Regions from separate parts of the Homo sapiens genome. Here region 2 is linked to region 1. The links are contacts of gene promoters, found by promoter capture Hi-C in human tissues and cell types (Jung and others, 2019). All regions are on one chromosome and are shown on one strand. Each heading gives the region's core, a stretch centred on a gene start or on the middle of the fragment in contact. The rest is flanking DNA. Distances are from core to core; before and after follow the strand shown.

The links. Contacts are between HindIII fragments. The study calls those that stand out against the background at their distance.
Region 2: a fragment that was not itself captured here is called in contact with the fragment with the promoter of ZNF445 in region 1 in 2 of the 25 tissues and cell types used here (H1 embryonic stem cells and spleen).

Annotation. Positions count from the first base shown.
Region 1 is chr3:44,475,564-44,481,410 of GRCh38, reverse strand. It overlaps ZNF445 (zinc finger protein 445), which reads left to right and starts at 3,741. Exons shown (of 8, transcript NM_181489.6): 1 at 3,741-3,820. LOC101928529 (a long non-coding RNA gene) reads right to left here and starts at 3,721. Exons shown (of 4, transcript XR_940785.4): 1 at 3,202-3,721; 2 at 2,742-2,829. RefSeq lists silencers at 3,764-3,923, 3,944-3,993. The HindIII fragment of the contact is 14,864 bases long and covers 1-5,847 here.
Region 2 is chr3:44,402,249-44,408,171 of GRCh38, reverse strand. TCAIM (T cell activation inhibitor, mitochondrial) reads right to left here. Exons shown (of 11, transcript NM_173826.4): 11 at 1-730. The coding sequence ends at 490. Among named protein-coding and RNA genes, the nearest start is that of LINC01988, 23 kb to the left of the region's middle. The HindIII fragment of the contact is 8,371 bases long and covers 1-5,923 here.

The DNA.
Region 1 (5,847 bases), core at 2,492-4,991:
GGATCACCTGAGATCAGGAGTTCAAGGCCAGCCTGGCCAACATGGTGAAACCCTGTCTCTACTAAAAATACAAAAATTAGCTGGGTGTGGTGGTGGGCGCCTGTAATCTCAGCTACTCAGGAGGCTGAGGCAAGAGAATCACTTGAACCCAGGAGGCAGAGGTTGCAGTGAGCTGAGATCGTGCCACTGCACTCCAGCCTGGTGACAGAGTGAGACTCCGTCTCAAAAATAAATAAATAAATAAATAAATAAATAATAAAGACCAAATTAGGTTTTGTTAGTGATTCTAGATTCGGGCAACATCTCATTCTATAAAATAGAACGGGTATTCTGATAAGCTGAACAGAGGAGATTGGCTTTATAAGCAGAAAAAGGCCAAAGAAAGCAAAAATAGGGAACCAAAGGCAGACTGGTTGGCATTAGTTATTTCAGATTACTTTCCTTGTAAGGATTAAAGCGGAGGGGCCTTCGTTATCATGCCAGCTAAATCTGGCCTGTTTGAGGATTTGGCTATTATCACAATAGAGACCTCCTAAGGGCCTGGGTTAGACATAGAGAAGATTGATTAGTCAACAAATGTTTATTGAGTACATACTATGTAGTCAGTGCTGTTCTAAGTACTTGAGGTATAGCAATGCATAAAAGCAAAGATTCCATAGTTTTTCTTCCTCATGGCTATGGTCTGACTCAAAGATTCTTTCACCCCCTCCACTACCAATAAAGTTTAAATTCGTGTATATTCTCTCCTGGCTTCCTGATCCTCTCTCTTTCTCTACTTTTATGTTCAGATGCAAGGAATATCCTCTGCAGAAAAAGATGGAGGGTGGAGGAGGGAGTTGAGTTCAATTTTTCATTTTAAGTCCTTCATTAGTACTAAATGCATCAGTATTTCTTTGATATAAATGATAATTTTAAAATTCATTTAAAGTTGGATCACCTTCTAAAATCTCATTAAAATGTATTTTTCAATATCTTAGAATTAGAGGCAGAAGGGGGAATTCAGAGAAGATTAATTATATGATATAATATGTAATATATTTCAAATGGCCACAATTACACATAATTTAACTGCTTAAACATTTGTTTTATGTTTTTCTTATAGAAGAGTACACTAATCCAATGGATCACAGTAATCACCATCCTCAGATACATTGCTCTATTTTATTTTCATCCTAATATTTCAACCTGCCTCCTTCAAACTACAGAGAAGGGGCTGAGTTTGAGGCCAGAAAAGGAGTGAAAATCCTACCAGGCCAATTTGTTTGCCCACAACTGATTCTTAGTTTTAACATCTTATCTCTTTTCTCAAGTCACATTCCAGATCCCCATCTCAACACCCCAATTTTTTCTTCCCCATTTCAAAATAAGAAGAAAAAAATTAAGGAGGAAATTTCCCCCTTCTGTTTGAAAGGCAGAATCCTGATACACTTTAAATTCCAAAACAAAGAAGCAAATGAACATGCAATCCTTTAGCATGTGGTTTTTACATGTAGCAAGGAATCAGGGTAAAAGGATAATTATCTACTTCCAGGTTCTCAAATGTTGGAATCATCTAGGGATTTTAAAATCTAGGCTTGTCAGTGTCTCACCCACAAAGATTTGGATTGAATTGATATGAGGTATGGACTTTTTAAAAGCTCTGAGGAGGATTCTAATCTGCAGCAAAGTTAAGAACCACTGATTTACATGCACAGTTCTTTGCTTCTCCAAGTGTGGTCCAAGAACTGCAATATGGGTACACCTGGAAGTTTGTTAAAAATATTCGTTGGTCCCTCCCCAGACCTCCTGAATTTGAATCTACAGTTTAACCAGATCCCAAGTGATTTGTATTCATATGCACATGAGAATTTGAGAATCTTACCTAGGGCTTTTACTAAGCAAACTGCCCCGATCTGAAAGAGTACAGTGCTCAGGAAGTACAGCTAGCAAGAATATGCCTCCTACCAGAAAAGTGAAGAAACCTCATGGTTATAGGCTCGAGTGCTGTGGCACTCGGAGAAATCAGGTATTAGCAGAACTTCGAGATTCAAGAAGCTGTATAGGTCTTAAAATCAGAGCTGCACTCCCAGTGGCTGCTTCCCGAACTTTGCAAGTGCTGGTGAAGCCAATTTGGTTGATCTGTTTGATCACACTAAATGTGGGTGCTATCCATGCTAACCACCTATCACGTTGAAAAACATCCAGTAAGTACATCCCAAACACAGAGAACCTGCTCAAACTCTTCTACGATGGGAAAATTTTGTTCTCAAACAAAACTTGAAAACTCTTCTCACCACTATGGGTGGTTCTGAGTCACTCAAGAACATTATATCGAGTGGAAATTAATGGACAAATTAGGCATTGACAAGCAGTTTCTATTTTCCTTTTTGTATGTGTTGGATATTTTCCAATTGCCCCTCCATATTCAGTCTCAGTCCTCAACCCTGCTGTGACACTTGGGAGACTGAGTTTCCTGGATTGCCCTCTGGCTTCCAGTTGAGTTGGGCCAATGGGAAGCCCTGGCAGGAGATCAGAAGAGAGCTGGGTTCAGGTTATTTATTACCTCAGCTTCCTTTGTGCTGGACTATGGCTTGGATGTAGCCCTCAACTGAAAGCCACAGTTTCTCTCAGATGGCCTGCTCCTAGGGGTGAGAATAGCTTCTAAATTTTGCTAGCCATGGGATTCTGCACCACTCCGTGTTGCATTTCCTTAACCCTGTCCACTTTGTGTAAATCGCCCCTTGTGAACTCTCCCCACTTACCTTGTTTGAATGTGCCATCTGTTTCTCTATCACCTTGTCACCATCTTCCTGGTGTTCAGGATCTATTCTCTGTTTCCATCTTTGGTGACTGGGGCATTAAAAAGGGGTGGATCAGATGAGTAAAGCAAAGCCTCAGGGCACAGATGGGCATCATCAATGCCCATCTGAAAGATCAATCGTCAACATGTTGCAGCCTGCCACTAGGAAGCACAAACCAGAGGACTACCAGGACAGCAGCTTGTAGCATGCCCTCCAATGGCAGCAGATGGCCTTATGGCTTTGGCTGTGCACCCTCAAGGTTCTCTGGCACTGGCAATAGATGACATTTGCTCCTACAGGGGGTGGGCAACCTCTCCAGGTTGCTTCACCTCCTCTTCAAGCAGCCCCTCCACCCCCTACCCCCAACCTACTCCTCCCAGATTCCACATATTATTGGGCAATGGCATCATTGTTCACTCACCAGGCGAGCCTAGTTAGAATTCACCCACAGGAGAAAACGAGTGAAGGCCGTGGGAAGCTAAAGTATGGTGCACCTCTGAGCTGGCTATGAACAAGTATTCCTGGGTATGGTGATGATGGGGATGAGCTCGTCTTGGAAAGGCAGGAGTTCTGGCACCTAGCTTCCCGTAGGATCTGGTTCCCCTCTTTGAAGTGTACCCAGGCGAAGAATGAGTGGCTCCCTTAACCCCTTCTCCTGGCCAGGACCAGTCTGCTAGATACTGCTGGCCCTATTTTCACCCCTAGCTTTGGATCCCTTTCTTCCCTGGAGGGAAAGAGGCCTTCAGGGCAGCCCCGCAGACACGACAGGAGGGATGCAAGAAAACAGGCGCGGCTGGGCATCCGAGCGTGGAAGGGAAATGTCCAACTGAGGGAGGTGAGGGATGTTGGACAAGCCCCGCCGCCCGCCGCACCGGAGCCGGAGAGAAGCAGAGACGTTGGGCCTCCCAGTTTCCTAGAGAGGCCGCGGAGGGCCCCGGGCGCCGACGCGCGTGCGCGACTGGAGCCGCCGGGAGGTAGGCGCGGGACGGGCGGCTGCGGTGGCGGCGGGTGGACCGATTGTCGCTCGGCGGCGGGAGTCGGTGAGAGGCCTGGCGGGGCGCGGGGGTGGGGGTGGCGGCATTGCGGGCGCGGGGCTCCCCGAAGTCCGCGGCATTCTCGGGCCTGCCCGGGCGGCGGACGGGGCCCGGCCTGGAGGCTGCGCCCGTGGCGGGGGTCTGGCGGTGGATCCCGCCCCCGCCACGCTGAGGGCGTATCTAGAACCTCTTTGCCTCCCAGGCGTCCGGGGTAGAGAATCTGGAGCCCGGGTTTCTCCGGGCTTTCTCGTTTCATCCAATTCTGCATATAAAGCGTATTTATCAGAGACAATTAGATAACACGGGAAAGTAGAAGAAAAGTAAAAGTAGCCGCAATCCTGAAATCTGTCTCCAGGCCTCCTGACATTTAAAATATCTGTGCATAATTCTGCACACTGACATCCATAAATATATATTACGAAATGAGAGCGTGCTCTTGCTTTTTAAAAAACCTGTTAGTATTATTGTGAGGAAACAATATTGTGCCAAAATAACACATAACATTTACCATACAATACATAAACGTTTACCATTTAACCATTTGGAAGTGTGTAATTCAGTGACATTAAGTATATCCATACTACTGCTTTTTAAAAATTATAATCTCCTGAATTTGTAGAATGCATTTGTTCTTATTTTGGCTAAAATTAGTGCTGGCATTATGACACCACTAAAACATTTTTTTTTTGGCGAGGATAATTAAGAAATCGTGTTTGCAGTTTATTTTCTGTAGGAGACACATTTGCATGAAGCTCTAAATGGTGAAGTGACATTTGTGCAGAAAAATAGCAAAATCTTGTTTGTCAGGGTGGTTATCTTTCACAATGAAGTAACTAGTATATAAAATGCAGTTTTTAAACAAAGGCAGAGCTCTAACCTGCAGCGATTGTAGCACACTCTGACTTGCACAGGCCTAAGAGATCAGAGTATTGTCTCCTTCCGAATTTAAAAGTGGTGGCCAGGAAAGAATGTTATTCTGTTTCAAACGGCTTGTAGTGCAAAACTAAAAACTCAGTATTAGGTTGGTTGTTTTGCAAGGAAGTGCCAGGGAGTGGTTTGAGCAGTAATTTGATTAAGCAGTTTCAGAGAGCCTCCATGTGTTGTGTGTGTGTCTGCGTGTGTGTGTGTGCATGCATGTGTGTGCATATTCAGGGACCAAAGAATTAGGCTGCTCTTTTATGTTATCTTAATGAAAGGCAGACACATTTTGGTTAGAAAAAAAAAAAAGTCTTACTGTAAGCCGAAAAGATGAGAATGTTTTGAAGATAAACCTCAGTATGCACTTAAAAAGGAAACTGACAAAAAGCATGAAAAATGGCAAGTATTCCACCGCTAGGTTTTCTCTGGCTTCCGGTATCCAGGAAGAATTAGTGCATAAGCAGTCTACGATGTCAGAGAGTAAACTATAGTAAAACATAACACTGTATTTTGCAATTTTCAAGATTTTGTATTAGAAACAATGTGAAAGAGTACATTTCTGTGACTCTCAGGCGAATTGTTAGGTGTTCTGTAAGATTGAATTTATGAATTTCTTTTTTTCCTTCCTATTCTTAAATTTATTTTCTTTTTCCTTGTTTATTTTATTTATTTTATTTTTGAGACGGAGTTTCACTCTTGTTGCCCAGGCTGGAGTGCAGTGGTGCAAACTCGGCTCACTGCAGCCTCCGCCTCCTGGGTTCAAGTGATTCTCCTGCCTCAGCCTCCCAAGTAGCTGGGATTACAGGTGTGTGCCACCACGCCCAGCTAATTTTTGTATTTTAAGTAAAGACGGGGTTTCACCGTATTGGTCAGGCTGGTCTCGAACTCCCGACCTCAGGTGATCTGCCTGCCTCAGCCTCCCAAAATGCTGGGATTACAGGCGTGAGCCACCGTGCCCGCCTCTTGTTTTATATTACTATGTAGCAGCTGTCACTGTTTAGCATACCACGAATCTGTCTCCTCATAGACGCCTCAAGGCAGTACTGGAACATACAGTAGGTTCTCAATAAATATATGACAAATTAATGAAAGAAGGAATCCAAATTGGTAGATAA
Region 2 (5,923 bases), core at 1,597-4,096, 72 kb after region 1:
CATATAAAAATATATGACTATTGTAGAATCCTTCATTTACATATCACTAAAAATATGTTCTTTCATTCTAACATCTTTTTATCTAGCCTTGCCAACCAACATCATAAGACTGGGATATAAAATCTTTTTATTAGTTACTTATTTATTTTAAATTATCATTATTATTTTTTGAGACAAGGTCTTGTTCTGTTGCTCAGGCTGGAGGGCAATGGTGCAATCTGGGCCCACTGCAACCTTGGCCTCCTGGGCTCAAGTGATCCTCCTATCTTAGCCTCCCTAAGTAGCTGGGACCGCAGGCATGAGCCACCACGCCTGGCATATAAAACCTCTCCTAGCAGAAATTAATTTTTTTAAAAAAGTCTACTTTTAAAGCAGCAGTTAGAAACTTTGTTCTTATGTAAATAATACTGTTATATCAAATTGTGGATTTAAATATTTTTAATTTAAGTTCCTTTCTTATCTCTTAAAAAAATAAAACAGATTTCTGTGTTACTTAATGGCTTCTCCATTCTTCCAATTCCAAGGAATACAAAGGTCTCCATCTTGCATAACAGAGTAAAAATGTGAAATGCAGAGGTGCATCCCATGTAGGTAAGGCAGTGATTGTTCTAGAAGTCTCTTACAACAATCCACCATTTGTATACTAGAAATGCTGGGCTCTTTATATAACTTCTCCAAAGAAAATTTCTTTGTTGATGCCTGTATCAATTCATTTTCAATAACCTTTAACCTATTATATAGAAAATAAAAATATTGTCATAAGAACAAATATTGTCATAACCAAACAAAAGAACACACAATGTAAATATATTCTTACATGTTGGGGCCCTAACTGTGCACTCACAACACTGAAAATGCCACCCACAAAGGCCAAATTATACGTTTGGAAGACACGCCAATAGCCATCATTGTTAAATCTTTTGAGTTACTGTCACATGGATCTCTAAAAGTATTTGTTAATGTTTTTAGCAGTAAAGGGCTAAAAATAACATAAATTTAAAAAAGCTCTTATATTGCCTTACCTAGCAGCTGTTAGTGACTGAAGGAAGGAGAAAATGAAGAATATAAAACCCCTAGTTTTAGGACCCACCTAAAGTTTAACCCTTGGGAAGTAATGCTGTCTAAAGATTTCCCAGATAAAAGCAGGCTCACAGAAAACCAGGATCCTGAGGAGGACAGGTTCTCTTCACTCTTACTCTCCTACCTCACCAGCCCCCTGTCTGTTCCCTCCCCTCTGCCTGAGGTTACAACTCTCTTATTCCATCAGGGGCTTCAGTTCAGGTCTACAAAGTATACAACTCTAGGCAGAACTCAGTGTCTCAAATACTTTCTCCCACAGGTGGCAAGTGCTTAGGGATACAGTGTTTTGATAAGTGGATTCAATGTGCTACATCTAGACCAACACATGAGTTACTCAGCAAGCCCATTTAACAACGTGAATAAAGCAAAACTGCCATGGTCGTGTCCCTGAACCAGTCTATTTAAAATACTTCATTGGTTTAAAATGTCCAAATATCTTACATTTAATCACCCTTAAACACTGCATAGAAAAGTAGGTACTATAAAATTTCCATAAACTAGACAGTAAAAAACAGAAATGGTCATAGCAGTTAGTTATCATGGCCTATAATACTGATCACTTTCTTAAGTGCTGTTTGCTTTTTCTGTAAGATTATTCTTACTTAGAATATGCTGCTTAGAGATTCAAGCAGACAGACAGCAGTCAGGGCTGATGGTTCTGCAAATGTTTCACAGCTGGGCCTGCTTCTAATCTCTCCAGGATTAGACAGAAAGAACCCTTAAACTTCTATCAATAGCAGGGGATGAGTAACTTTTTCTGTAAAGGGATTTTTCACTTGTCAAGAAAAGATATTAACAACCATGCTTGGAAGTGAAAAGCCTTGTAGTGTGACCATGTTGCTGCATAGTTCTCCAACAATATATCTTTAAAATCTGGGCAAGACTCTCATTTTCATTCCTTTTAGGAGAAGCCTACAGTCTCATCTCCAGGTTTCCCAGACCCATGGGTCACAAGCTTTATATCAGGAGAACCCATCAGTTCTTCTGAGGTACAATCTTAGAGAAGCATTGAGAAGGCAGCCCTTGTTAAGGTTGCCCAGGGTTGTCCCCTCAACAGGAAAATAACGTGTACCAGCCTTTCCTCATCCTTGGGTGCCTCTGCAGTCAGCATGAGATTAATTTTTTTTTTTTTTTTTTTTTGAGATGGAGTCTTGCTCTGTCGCCCAGGCTGGAGTGCAGTGGCGTGATCTTGGCTCACTGTAACCTCTGCTTCCCAGGTTCAAGCGATTCTCCTGCCTCAGCCTCCCAAGTAGCTGGGATTGCATGCATGTACCACCATGCCCGGCTGTTTTTTCTATAGTAGAGGCAGGGTTTTGCCATGTTGGCCAGGCTGGTCTTCAACTACTGACCTTAGGTGATCCACCCGCCTCAGCCTCCCAAAGTGCTGGGATTACAGGTGTGAGCCACTGTGCCTGGCCTTGAGATAGGGTCTTGCTGTTGCCCAGGCTGGAGTATCACTGTCGTGACCATGGTTCACTGCAGCCTTGACCACCCAGGCTTAGGCAAACCTCCTGCCTCAGCTTCCCAAGTAGCTGAGACTACAGGTGCAAACCACCACACCCAGCTAATTTTTAAATTTTTTGTAGAGACGAGGTCTCACCATGTAGCCCAGACTGGTCTTGAACTCCAGGGCTCAAGTGATCCTCCTGCCTTAGCCTCCCAAAGTGCTGGGATTATAACTGTGAGCCACCATGCCCACCCTTTAGTCATTGTTTCTACTACATGCAAGTATCAGAACTACTTAAACACTCTTCTATTACTGTACATTTTGATTGTTTCCAACTTATTTAAGTGATTTTAAAATTTGAAATATATGATATAGAGTAAAAGGAAACATCTGAGTGGGTTACTATAAAAACATAAAGTGAGGAATGCCCCTGCTAGGGAGAGCTGGTTGATTCTCAGGTGCAGGTTACTCTGGGTTATTACCACCCTACAGAAGAACTGTGAACTAGGTTATCACCAGCCTCCAAAGGACTGGGGGTTCCACAGGCAGCAAATACTGTCTATATGCCAGCCAGGCAATGCCAAGAGACAGGAGCTACAAGTCACACAGTTTTGGGATGGTCATGTGGGTTGTACATACTAGCTTAGAATAGTGTGGGTTTTTTCCCTTTTTCTAACTATTCAGCAAGCTGAGAGTCCAGCAGAGCTGCTACTGTGAGGACCCTGTGAGCATGGGTGGCCTCTGGCTCCTTTTCTTTTGAACTAGAACAGCTGAGAGCTTTAATCTTTTTTATTAGGTTGGTGCAAAAGTAATTGCAGTTTTTTGCCATAAAAAAATGGCAAAAACTGCAATTACTTTTGCACCAACCTAATAAAAATAAACTATGTTTCCACTTAAGAATCCACCTTATAAGTGAAAAAGTATCTGAAAACCACTCTCTAGGAACATGCTTCACTGAAGGAAAGAAGTTAGTCTTCATCACTGCTCTTCGAATATAATGAAGGTGTCTTACTAGGGCAGGGACAGCAGAGCAAAGGAAGGAAAGACAGCAAAGGCGAGGAGAGGCTCCTGGGCCCAGAGTCAGGGGCATGAGGATGATGACTGAGCAGGAAGGAAGGTTGGGACCAACAGCAAGTGCTTTCTCTTCTTGGGGGCTAAGTATAGGGATGAGGACTCTGGGGCCCAGAGCCAGAAAAAGGCTAAGGAAGCAGGTGAAAGGTCAATCGGTATTTCCTGAAGGCCCCCTGTGTGCCAGGCACCCATCCCAGTTGGCACCGGAGGGAACAAAATAGACTGAAGTCTTCCCTCAGTGGGCTTACCTTCTGTTGGGAAGGAGAGAGAGAGAATACATTAATAAGGAAACAGCAAATTTGCTGAGGTGGATGGAGAAAGGCAGGCCAGCTGAGGTGGAGAGGGGAGTGCAGCAGAGGGTGGGGACTCCATGCTTCGAGTTGTGTGGCCAGAGAAGGTGGAATGTGAGCAGGGCCTGAGGAAGCTGAGATTTCTGAGGAAGGAGTGCCTCAGGCTGGGGGAAGGCACACAGGCCCAGGAGTGGATAACATGTCAAGAGTGCCCGAGGACTATAAAAAGGCTGGAGCAGAACGAGTGAGAGGAGAGTCCCAGGAGCTGAGCTGAGAGAAGCAAGGGAGTGGGCAGAGGGTCTGTGGGCACTGGGCAGAGGAGTGACAGCTCTGACTAGGTTCCCACTGCTGCTCTGACGAGAGTCCACTGCGGGGTTGGGGAGATGCTGAGTGTGGAAGCCTGAAGACCAGACAAGAGGCCATCACAAAATGATGGAGGCTCAGACCAGGTGCAGCAGGAAAGGAAAGGAGAAGAGGTGAGTTTCTTTCCATGTCTGCTCTGAAGGTGGACTGGGGTAGGGAGTGAGACAGGGGAGAGGAATCAAGATGATTCATGGGTTTTTATTCGCCTGAGCAACTGGTAGGACGGAACATTCACAAATTGACCTATTTGAATTTTTTTATTTTTACTTTCCTTTCTCACAATCTAATAAGCATTACTCCAAAGCTATATAATGGCCATAGAGAAAAAGAGAAAAAGCAGCCGATAGGTTATAGCAAACAAAATAATCAGTCCTAATGATGAACAGTTGGCTAGAATTGCTCTTGAGGGTTAAAGCAGATGTAAAATTTAGAAAAGAAATAGCATGAACAAATACTTAACAACCAATCAAGAGGTAGGGTGTGATAGGATCTGGCCTACCGAGTTGTCATCAATTCCATAAGGAAAACAGGAAAACAAAAGAGATGCTGCTCCTTCATTTACTTTATATATAAAATGATCTCACTGTCTCTTGCTAAAAGAATGGCTTCCATCGTTAGTTGCCATCCCTTCTCTCTATTTATTTATTTTTCTGAGACGGAGTCTCGCTCTGTTGCCCAGGCTGGAGTGCAATGGCATGATCTCGGCTCACTGCAAGCTCCACCTCCCAGGTTCAAGTGATTCTCCTGTCTCAGCCTCCCGAGTAGCTGGGATTACAGGTGCATGCCACCACGCCCAGCTAATTTTTATATTTTTAGTAGAGACGGCGTTTCACCATGTTGGCCAGGCTGGTCTCAAACTCCTGACCTCAAGTGATCCGCCCACCTCGGCCTCCCAAAGTGCTGAGATTAAAGGTGTGAGCCACCATATCTAGCCTCTCTCTATATTTAAGATTCCTGGCTTTTTAAATGAGTACTTTGTGGAAACTGAGCCTCAAATGAACGGTAAGGCGGGAGAACTGCTTCCACTGGCACCCTGCTAAACAACCAGGTTCCATCACCCTGTCCTCTTCTCTTCTCCTTGAAACTTCCCTCCATGGACATGTGGAATGGCATTCTCTCCAGCTTCCATCCTGTTCCCTGCTGTTGCCTTCCCTTGTCCCCTATGCTACCAGGGTGTCAGCTTTGGCTCTTCCCACTTGACTGTGCTCCAGCTACCACTGGCAAATTTACAGCACTCACATCTCCTACTAGAAACAATTCCAGGAGGCAGAGATCATGTCTGAGTCTTTCTATCAATGGCATTGATCTCAGCTTTGGGCACGTAACAGTCACAGTAAATGCTGGCTAAGTAAATGACTTCATTTCTTCACAAGTGATACATAAAACATTATCAAGCAATATCTTACCACCTACAAAACAGGAAACTGTTGGCTATAATAGGACTCCTTCAAAGATACAAACAACATAAAAACAATACTGCTTAGGAACTAAAATGATACATATATTTTTTTGAGAAAGGATTTCATTATGTCACCCAGGCTGGAGTACAGAGGTGTGATCACAGCTCACTGCAGCCTTGACCACCCAGGCTCAATCAATCCTCCCACCTCAGCCTCCTGAGTAGCTGGGATACAGGCATGGTGCCATGCCTGGCTAATTTTTTTTTTTTTTC